Regions from separate parts of the Homo sapiens genome. Here region 1 is linked to region 2. Evidence: promoter capture Hi-C in 16 types of primary human blood cells and fetal thymus (Javierre and others, 2016). All regions are on one chromosome and are shown on one strand. The core of a region is centred on a gene start or on the middle of the fragment in contact, and the rest is flanking DNA. Distances in the headings are between cores, read along the strand shown.

The links. The method cuts DNA at HindIII sites, captures the fragments that hold promoters and counts their contacts. A CHiCAGO score of 5 or more calls a contact.
Region 1: the fragment with the promoter of OPTN here is called in contact with the fragment with the promoter of UPF2 in region 2 in 1 of 17 cell types (erythroblasts); the score reaches 6.1 in erythroblasts.

What each region holds. Positions count from the first base shown.
Region 1 is chr10:13,096,346-13,101,529 of GRCh38, reverse strand. It overlaps OPTN (optineurin), which reads right to left and starts at 1,367. Exons shown (of 15, transcript NM_001008212.2): 1 at 1,228-1,367. It also overlaps a transcript of CCDC3 not described here. RefSeq lists an enhancer at 582-711 and silencers at 992-1,561, 2,032-2,091. The HindIII fragment of the contact is 12,315 bases long and covers 1-5,184 here.
Region 2 is chr10:12,039,221-12,044,495 of GRCh38, reverse strand. UPF2 (UPF2 regulator of nonsense mediated mRNA decay) reads left to right here and starts at 1,687. Exons shown (of 22, transcript NM_015542.4): 1 at 1,687-1,741. It overlaps LOC105376416 (a long non-coding RNA gene), which reads left to right. Exons shown (of 3, transcript XR_930666.2): 3 at 535-697. RefSeq lists enhancers at 1,270-1,519, 2,690-2,779 and silencers at 1,960-2,099, 2,120-2,169. The HindIII fragment of the contact is 3,508 bases long and covers 1-3,314 here.

The DNA.
Region 1 (5,184 bases), core at 118-2,617, 1.1 Mb before region 2:
AAGGTGTATTTCATGGCCAGAATACTTATGCGCCTCTACCTAAGTAAGGGCGGGGGTTCGGCAGGACATAATACAGTGTCCAGTTGCCCTCGAGAATAAAGTTTGGTTTTCCGGGGGTGGGTGGGGGGGTGGGGGGGTGGAGGTTAGGTTAGTTATATTCCTAGCATAATATGCAACCTAAAGGTTAGTTTATAAAAAAAGAAGCTGTTACTTTTATTGTGTTGTACGTAATATATAAAGAACGCCTAAAATTGGCCCAGTGGAAAAACAGATGAATTATGCCAGGACTTAAATCAATGATCGTCCTCTGTCTACAGGTCACATTTAAACTTGCCTTGTCCACTCCAGGGCAATCCCTGGCCTTGGGGTCTGCCCTGGGACTTCTCCAGCCCCCGCCCCAAAACTGGGCCTGTCCTGGGAGGCAGCCTGGCACCACTAACTCTTCTCTCCCTGGGTCAAAAGAGCAAGGTGGGTTCTTCTGTTCACACAGCCTGCACCTTGCTAACCAGATCCAAAGGCTTCTGAGGTCCTCACATTGCCTTACTTTTCTATGCTTTCATTTTCCATTTCATCCTTACAAACAGTTCCTTGGTGTACATTTCCATACAACAGTTTTCCTGCTGGTGGAGGCCAGGTCGGAACCTGGGTTTCATTTTCTTTGAGCGATGTTTACTTCCTGTAGCTTATGCATTTCGATGGCAAAAACAATTCCTTTGGGGTTCTCGGCCTCATCAAATATTCTCTCTATATAGAGTGTACACACTCTCCTAGACACAGCAGTCTATGTGGATTCCCACCGACCCTGGGCACCTCATTCAGCTCGGGTAGTGGTCCCATGTCTCCCACAGGCGTGTCTGTAACCACCTCCTTATGGCGAGGAACTGGCTGCGGAATCCTTCCCAGCCTGCGGGAGGACGTCACCTCCAAGTCTCTGGGTGACTTGTAGAGGGGTTACCTGCGGCCAAGAGGCCGGCCCTGGACCCTTCTTGGGCCCACCCTGTGTTCACTACCCACCCTCTCCCACCAGGTCAGGACCCGCCGAGGCTTGGGGATCCTCCCAGGGCAGCCGTCTCGCGGGAGGGCCGCCCCACCCCTCGCCACCCTCACCCCGACAGGCTCCGGGCCGCGGGGCAGGGCGGCGGGTACCGTTTTCAGGCCGCGGAAGCGCCCGCCGGGAAGGAGCCGCCGCCCCCTCGCCCACCGCTGCAGCCCCCTGCCCTGGCTCACCTGCCGCCCGGCTTGGCTTCGCTCAGGGTCACTGTTTCCTCGGCATCGTGCCGCCTGGAGAGAACTCCCGACCGGGATGGGACGCTGACCAGGGAACCTGCCGGCGGGCGGCGGCGGTGGCGGAGGGGGCAGCCGGGACTGGGGTGCCTAGGGCTGATGCGCGGCCTGGCGACCCCGCCCAGCGCGGCTCAGCTGACAGCCAGCCGCTCCCTGCCCGCGCCGGGGAATTTCCCGGGCCCCGCCCATCCCATACCCCGCCCATCCCCCCCACCCTGCCCATTCCATACCCCACCCGACCAAGGCCCCGCCCCTCCTCTTTCCTGCGTCCGCCCCCAGCTACCCACCCTCGCTGTCCGTGCGGGGTCGAGGCTGGGACCCGGGTGAACAGGGACTGCTCTAAGGCGTCACTGTGACGGCGTTAATCAAAATAAATCATTAATCAAATGCAGTGTGCGGAGTTCGTCTTCCCCGTGTCTTCCCGCAGATCCCGTAGTGGAGGCTGGAGCCGCAGGGGGTCGCTGCCGCCCACAGAAAGAGGAGAATGCCAGGCATCCTCGGAGGGAGGCCTCCATCTGTGTTTTTTGAAAAAAGGTTAACATCTAGACATAGTTAACTGAGCATACATAGCTTTCCACTCGTTTTTGCTTTAAAATACACTCAAAAAGCAGAAAGCCTGCAGGATGCTTCTTGGGCTCTTGTTGCGGACGAATAGGCTCGGCTATTCTTGTTGCTGAAGAATAGCCTCTGCTGGTGTGGAGGAGGGAAGCTGCCCCCGGATTAGACAGCAGGATGACAAGGTAGGAGCGAGAGCCGCCCTATGTGCATCCAGAGTACCCGGGTAGCGCTGCAGGGATGGGAGGGAGGGAAGGAGGGAGGGGGAGAGAGAGAGAGAGGGAGGGACGGAGAGAGGGAGAGAGGGAGGGAGAGAGGGAGGGAGGGAGAGAGGGAGAGAAAAAAAACAAAACAACAACAACAAAACCTAATCTGAAACAGGAAAAAGGCAGATGCGCCCTCTCCTGGTATCTCCGAAGGATTCTGCTTCGCTGTCTGGACCTCCTGCTGCCTGGCCAAGCCTGACTCTCAACCCTGCCCCTGAGGCTAACCCCAAGAGCAGGGCAGAGAAGCAAGCAAGTCAGCGACTGCCCCAGACCCAATTCCGGGCCCTCGAGTTGGTGTGGTGTAGGAGGGGCAGATGAGGCTAGAGGCTGCTTTATAAGGAGTGAGCCTGGGGGTGGGAGTGGGGAGAAATAGAGAATTTAAAAAAATTCTTTTTATATCAGTGCAGGAGGGCCAGGCGCGGTGGCTCACGCCTGTAATCCCAGCACTTTGGGAGGCCAAGGCAGGCAGATCGCAAGGTCCGGAGTTCGAGACCAGCCTGGCCAATATGGTGAAAGCCTGTCTCTACTAAAAATACAAAAATTAGCCGGGCATGATGGTACTCTCCTGTAGTCCCAGCTACTCGGGAGGCTAAGGCAGAAGAATCGCTTGAACCCGGGAGGCAGAGCTTGCAGCGAGCCGAGATCATGCCACTGCACTCCAGCCTGGGTGACAGAGTGAGACTCCGTCTCAAAAAAAAAAAAAAAAAAAAAAAATCAGTGCAGGAAATAACTGATCATTCATGAAAAGGGCTTGGAAAAATATATACAGAGAGAAATGGAATGACGATCTCTAATTTTTGTTTATCTACTGGGATAATCCAGGCAGAAAAGACGGTGTCACAGCTGTACCCTGGGATCGGCAGAAAAGGGTCCCCCCGGGGCCTGTAAGGGGTGCCTGCGGTAAGTCGTACTTCACTAGGCTCCTTTTACTGTTTAAAACCCTATAGGTGGGGCACGGTGGCTCACACCTGTAATCCCAGCACTTTGGGAGGTCAAGGCAGGAGGATCGCTTGAGCCCAGGAGGGAGAGGCTGCAATGAGCTGTGATTGCAGCACTGCACTCCAGCTTGGGTGAGAGGGAGACTTTGTCTCAAGCAAAAACAAAAACGAGAACAAAACAACACTATGAAAGTGAATTAAAATGAGCATCAGTGAAACTCAGAGCCAAGAGAAGAAGGTCACCCACAAGCTGCCCATGGCTTTGGTGTGGGAGGCTCGAGGTGAGTTTCTGGTACAGAAAGCAGTCAAAGTTGTTTTCTCCTGATTCCTTGCTCTCAGTGGTGGGGTCGGGGTGGGGGGTGCCCTGAAGCACTGCACACACACATGCACACACACTCCCCCGACAACCACTTCTTAGCTGTAGGACCTTGACCAAGTTACTTCATCTTACCCTTCCTCATTCCCTTTATCTGTAAAATGGGGAGTATAGTACACTCCCAAATCCAGAAAGTTCTAAGGACCAAACCTCTTTTCTGACCAGACCCAACTGATGGAAAGCTATTTACAGTCTTTATTTAGATCCCTTGATGTGATTTTTAAATTTGTTTTGTGAAGGAAAATCGAATAGTTGATAGGAGAACTGCGTCAGACAGTGTCAGGGTGTTATGTGATATAAATCCCATTTATTGAATAGCCTTTTGAAAATCCCCAGAATTCTGGACTCTAAAGCAGAGCTTGCCCCAAAGGTTTTATTTTATTTTTTGAGGTGGAGTCTCACTCTGTTGCCCAGGCTGGAGTGCAGTGGCATAATCTCAGCTCACTGCAATCTCCACCTCCTGGGTTTGAGTGATTCTCCTGCCTCAGCCTCCCAAGTGGCTGGGATTACAGGCGTGTGCCACCACACCAAGCTAATTTTTGCATTTTTCGTATTGATGAGGTTTCGCCATGTTGACCAGCCTGGTATTGAACTCCTGACCTCGGGTGATCCACCTGCCTCGGCCTTCCAAAGTGCTGGGATTACATGTGTGAGCCACGGTGCCCAGCCACCCAAAAATTTTAGATAAGGCCTCTGGACCCACAGCCCTCACCTAAGGATGCTGAGAAGATTAAAGAGGAAATACGTCTTCAACACCTAGAAGAACGCCTGGCTCATGGTGTTTGTTGCTGTTGCTTGTGTTAGAGCCGGTTCTGTTTCTTAGCCTGGATCATCCCGTTTGGTGACTCCATCTTCCTGCACACTTCCATGGGTAGATGGAATCTAAATGCAGCGAAAAAACTGAAATAATAGCATGCTCTTAGCTGATTTGTTGATGTGGTTTTGTGGTGGGTAAATGTAGAGCAGTGTGGGAAGGTTTTTAGTGAGATCCTAATCTGGGTTTGATGTTCCTTGTGTTCCCTTTCCACCCCAATCTCCTCTGTTTGGAGTTAGCAACGAGTCCCTTTGGGCTTCCTACCTTCAGGAGCGTTGGCTGGACTCCTGGCAACAGCTCTTAGAAGTACAGCCTTTCTTCTTGTCTTTTGAGAAAGCCTGATCTCAATACATCCATGATCTACCCCAGATGTCCTGGAGGAAGAGCCAGAGCTGGGTGGGGTGGAGGCTTTCACAACAGTTGGAGGGAGGAGTGACTCCCCCGCCCCCAGATTGGGAGGAGGAGTGGGATGGTGGTCTTATGAGCATCAAGGACTCAAGCCTCAGTCCCTGCAGCACCCAGACAGACAGCAAGCTCTTGGGATGCACCTACTGGACTTTGGGAACCTCCCGCAGATTCTGCTGCCCAGGCTTGTCATTGGAAACAGCAGAGACTGTTCCCTAGAAGAACCATTTGATAATGAGGGTATCAGTGGCAATGTTGCTGGGCTGAAAAATAAATGGCCCTTACTTCAATGGGTACCAAAAGCCCTCCTGGAGTTTTGCATGGCCGTAGGGAAGGAGACCTCCCCTCTCCAGACCCCAGTGGTGCCCGAAAATAGGTTTCCGTACACCCCTGCAGAACTGGGTTTAAAGAAAGTAAAGAGGCCCAGGGCGGTGGCTCACGCCTGTAATCCCAGCACTTTGGGAGGATCGTTTGAGGTCAGGAGTTCAAGACCAGCCTGGCTAACATGGTGAAACCCTATCTCTACTAAAAATATAAAAATTAGCC
Region 2 (5,275 bases), core at 438-2,937:
TCGGCTCACTGCAAGCTCTGCCTTCCCGGTTCACGCCATTCTCCTGCTTCAGCCTCCGGAGTAGCTGGAACTACAGGCACGTGCCACCACGGCCGGCTAATTTTTTTTGTATTTTTAGTAGAGACGGGGTTTCACCGTGTTAGGCAGGATGGTCTCGAACTCCTGACCTTGTGATCCGCCCGCCTCGGCTTCCCAAAGTGCTGGGATTACAGGCGTGAGCCACCGTGCCCGGCCTTCATCTTTCTCTTTCACTATCCTTTAAATGACTGACCTATGTGTAGTGTATAAAAAATATATATTTTTAAATACAGGAAGCAGCAACACTCAGTATGAGAGGATAATTTGCGTGCTAAGAGTAAATGGGGAAGCAAACAGTAAATAGAGGCAAATGGGCAAAGGTTGAGTCATAGGGAACCTGGACTTGCCTCAAGTATTTGTGGTTGGTAGTAGTTCATTACGTGGGCTTGGGCACCAGGTGGGGCCCCCTCAAGTCAAGCAAACGTCAAGACCAGTTTCGCACCCTTGTTCCTCTAGCTCCGGACCAGCCAGAGCCACCTACTCGGATCATGTTGGCAGAACCCAGTACTGTTTCGAGGCCAGATGCACCATTTCAGCAATTCAGGAGGAAATAAGCAGTGTGGATAAACTGATACCCATTTTTGAAAGTCGGCCTGGGTTCGCATTCAGAAGAAATGTCGACGCTAGCCATTTTTTTTTTAAAATGGGTGATTTGATAACTCAGGGAAGTCTTGCCACTGTAATTTTTAAAAGTTTGCTTGCTAGAACCAGGTACTTTCTAAGAAGTGTATGGAAAAAGCCTTGATTCTTCTTCGCCCTGGGTGGTTTTTACGTCGAACACCTAGAAGTGCTTCTGGAAATCCCCCCGCAGGACTTTCGATGTCTTTTAGGGCATTCTTAAGACTAGACCCATTCCTAAGCGACTCCCACCTCCCAAACCAGCCATATGGTTTAGTTTCTCCAGTTTCCAATTTTCTAAATCTTCAACGTCTCCCCTCGAATTAGTCCAATCAAACTTTCTCTTCTTAGACCTCTTCCTTAGGTTCGCACCAGGAAACGCCCAGGAGAATCACGTGGCCGGGCTTGTCCTTAATGGCGCTCCGTAACCCTCCCACTATTCCACCACACTTCCTCGCCTCCCGTGAGCTCCGCCCCGCCCCATTCGCGCTTCCCACCCCCATCCCCCGCGAAGCGCCTGCGCCTGCGCAGCTCCAATTCAGGCGCTTTCCCTTTCCTGGCGACCAATCCACTTCCTGCCTCGGGTCCTCGGAACACTCCACCCCTCCGCTGGGGCCCTGGTTTGAGGTGCTGGTAGTGGCTACCTTACGTATTGCCAGTCTGAAAAATTCGCTCTTCTCATCGACTGGGGAATTTGAAAGAGCTGTTAAGTGAATGGCACTCATATGAGCCTTTGCCCCGGACCCGCCACCCCAGAGTCAAGCTGAGGGCATCGGCATGCCGCAGGGAAGACGATCAGGACTGTTTTTAATCGGGCAGTCGCGCGGATGGCCTTTTCCCTCTCGCCTCCTTCCGCCCCGCCCCCACTCTCAGCCCGGCCGCGCTGGTGAGTGGCGGGCGGGAGGGCTGGCGGGCGGAGGGAGGAGGGGGAGCTGAGGGAAGGCGGGCCCTCGGCTGCGAGATAGGTGGGGGGAGGGGAGGGGAGAGCCCGAGCGCTGGAGTTGGTGCTGGGAAACCCGGGGCTAATGTTGACAACAGGCTCGAGGTGAGTCCCGGGGATCCTCCTTCCCCTCCGCTCCAACGATCGGGAGGAAATGGGGCTGGGGGGCACCGGCCTAGACTCCTACTCCCTGGGGGACCCCAGAGGCGACTCCACACTCCAGCTCTCCGGGGTCGGCGAGCAGTGGAGGGACCGCGGGTCCGGCGTCGTTCTCCTCAGACCCCCTGTCTCCGAGGCTCCCATCAACGCGGGAGCCCCCGGGCCGGGCCATGCTTGGGGGGCGGTGGAGGAGGTGCCTGCCCCACATGCCTGGGCCGGGCCTCGAGACTGGAGGCGGGGAGCCCGCGGTGGAGGGGCGAAAGTGTTCGGGGGCGTGGAGGAGAGCGAGGGGAGGTCGGGGGAAGCTCCTCGAGAGCCGGGAGGGAAGCGAGGGCGAGAAAGTGGGGAGGGCGCGTGTGTGGGAGGCTGCGGAGTGGGGAGACCGGCCGGGAAGGCTTCTGTGGCGAGGGAGTGTGGGGCGAGAAGTTGGGGTTGGGGCAGCGATGGTCCGCGAAGGTGACCGTGGATACCTGTGGGAAGGGGAGTTGTGTCGGGGAAGTGTGGTGGGTTTAGAGGTTCCTACACCACCAGAGCAGGGGTTTGTAGGAGAGGTATGTGTAGGGGAAGGGGCTTGGGGTGTATCTGGGGATGGTGGGCATGGGCTGTTTGGTTGACTTCCTTTTAATCACATAGGCTGGTTGATTCTTCACTTTACCTTCACCTCTTCAAGGCGCCAAGCACTCTCTTCTTGCTAGGACTGTTGGACTAAGGAAGTGATCACAGGATATTTGGTCCCCAGGTTGGCAGAGCAGAGCCAGCTGGGTCCACGCTGGGGTGATCGGACCTTCAGCTCTCTTGCTCATCTTAGAGGACTTACACGACACGAAACGATGCATCAGATCAAAGTGAAACCCTCGCTGACGCTTTATCTCATTTCCATAGTTCTTAGGTGTTCCTTAACATCGTCAGTCTCCTCATTTGTGAGCTGGTACAATTTCTAACAGTTCTTAATACGTCCTTTATACTAAGGATGTTCTTTAAAAAATAAAGTCAGAAACTGGGAGATAGTGTTCCTGTGCTGTTCTGTCCTGACAGCATTTTGAATAAGAGAATTGAAAGGTAAAACCGCATTCTCTCATACTGGAGTGTTTTCGGAGCACTCTGATTGGGATTTCATACATAATCCATATGGTACTTTGCAAGGGAATGTCTTTAAAAGGGAAACACCCCCTTTTGTGCCCTCTTCCCCCCAATACACTCCATTGGTACTTCTAGTAAATTAGTTTTACTTTCTTTTGGAAGTTCAGAATGTATTTAGAATACCAAATAAAATATACAGTTCAAGTGACAGGACACTATTTTGGGAGCTAGGAAGGTGGTTTTAAAGCATGGTTTCCTTTTAAGGGTAGTCTGAATATAATTGTATTCAGCAAACTAATTTGTAACAGCTAATCGGATTCCAGTGAAAAGATCACGACTTTTTCTCCTCACTATCTTGAGAAAGGACCTATTTAAAATTGTATTTGGACTTGAAAAACTTTTGGAAACACTTTAGATGAAAAGTTTGGCTGTTAAAGCTTGAAGTTATTGAAATAAGAATTTTAGCATTTTATTAAATATCACTTAGTGCTCAGTTTTTTAAGTCGACATAAAACAAACGTGTATTGAGGTGAATCACGGTGTTTGTATATTTTATTCGTTTTAGTGTAGGTAGTGAAAAAGCACTGGGTAGTGAGTGTTGGTCCAGCCACGGAAACTAGCTGTATATATAATCTTGGGTAGGTGACTCTGCTGCTATCCTTGGAATGTAAAAATTGAGGATAGAAGTAGATAAAATCTAATAGTCTTTATCTGACTTTACAAATCTTTCATTGTATGCTGAACTTCTCAGTGTTCTTTGTGACAGAACATTTATTAATGCCTCCCTCATGCTAGTTACTATGCTAGAATTTTAAGAACTCTACAAGATAGATAGCAGTATATCCATCTTATTGATAAATAAGTGGACTCAGAGAAGTTGTTGCCTGATTTCTGTAGCTATCAGGCTGCAGAGTTGGGATGCAGATTTAAAATCAGTCCGACTTCCAAGCCCATGTATGTTGTTTTCACAAGTTGCATTGCTGCCTCTTCATGAACTTCTAGATTTTTGTCTTTTTTTTTTGTTTACGGAAATTTAGTCGCAAGTATACTTTGGGCGTATGCTTGTAATGTAAGGATGAAGTGGTTGAAAGGAGATACCAGTATCAGGACTTAAGGGTTTTACGGAGAATCTGTTTTATTATGTTCTAGGGTACAGTCTAATCCTTTTTTTTGTTTTGTTTTTTGTTTTTTGTTTTTCTTGAGACGGAGTCTGGCTTTGTCGCCAGGCTGGAGTGCAGTGGTGCCATCTTGGCTCACTGCAACCTCCGCCTCCCGGGTTCAAGTGATTCTCCTGCCTCAGCCTCCTGAGTAGCTGGGACTACAGGCGTGTGCTGCCACGCCCAGCTAATTTTGGTGTTTTTAGTAGAGATGGGGTTTCACCATGTTGTTGGCCAGGATGGTTTCGAACTCTTGACCTCGTGATCTACCTGCCTCGGCCTCCCAAAGTGCTGGGATTACAGGCATGAGCCACCATGCCCAGCCCCGAGTCTAATTCTTGCATGCCTACTGCAGCTTTATTTCTTATACTAAGTACTTAAAATTTAATGAAGACATGAATCTTATTAAAGAGTCATGAAAGTTTGGGACTTTGTTGAACTAATAAATGATGATCTTTGTGAATTTGTCAGATACTACATGAATTTCTTAATCTTTTCTTTGAAAAATTTAAGATGTTATTTTATCTTCAGAATGAGACATGCTGCCAGCCACAGTGGCTCATGCCTGTAAATCCCAGAACTTTGGGAGGCCAAGGCAGGCAGATCACCTGAGGTCGGGAGTTTGAGACCAGCCTGACCAACATGGAGAAACCCCATCTCTACTAAAAATACAAAATTAGCCGGGCATGGTGGCACATGCCTGTAATCCCAGCTACTCGGGAGGCTGAGGCAGGAGAATGACTTGAACCCGGGTGGCAGAGGTTGTGGTGAGCCGAGATCGTGCCACTGCACTCCAGCCTGGCGACAGAGTGAGACTCCATCTCAAAAAAAAAAAAAAAAAGAGAGAGAGAGAGACATAATTGTAAGTTCTGATGCCATTCTTTGTAGTGTCCTGTGGTCCTGAAATGTTACTTGTTGATGCGTCACATCAGAAAATGTGAAATCTATATAAACTTTTTTCACTTAATGATTAATATCCTTCAATAAGATCATGTTATTACCTTAGATATTAAATTGTCCCCATATGTTTCAGCCAGAGTCTGCTAAAAGTTAAAAACATTACATGAGAACTCCTTAACCATTATGAAGGATTCTTTCTACTCTTGAGATTCATAATTCTGTGGGTTGCTATAGTCAGTATTTACCAGCATGTCTCCCATCTCACAATTTGGTACTCTTAGGATTCTTTGGTTCAGAGAATGGGTTCAGATTCCCATTCTGTCACCAGCTGTGCAGGCCTTGG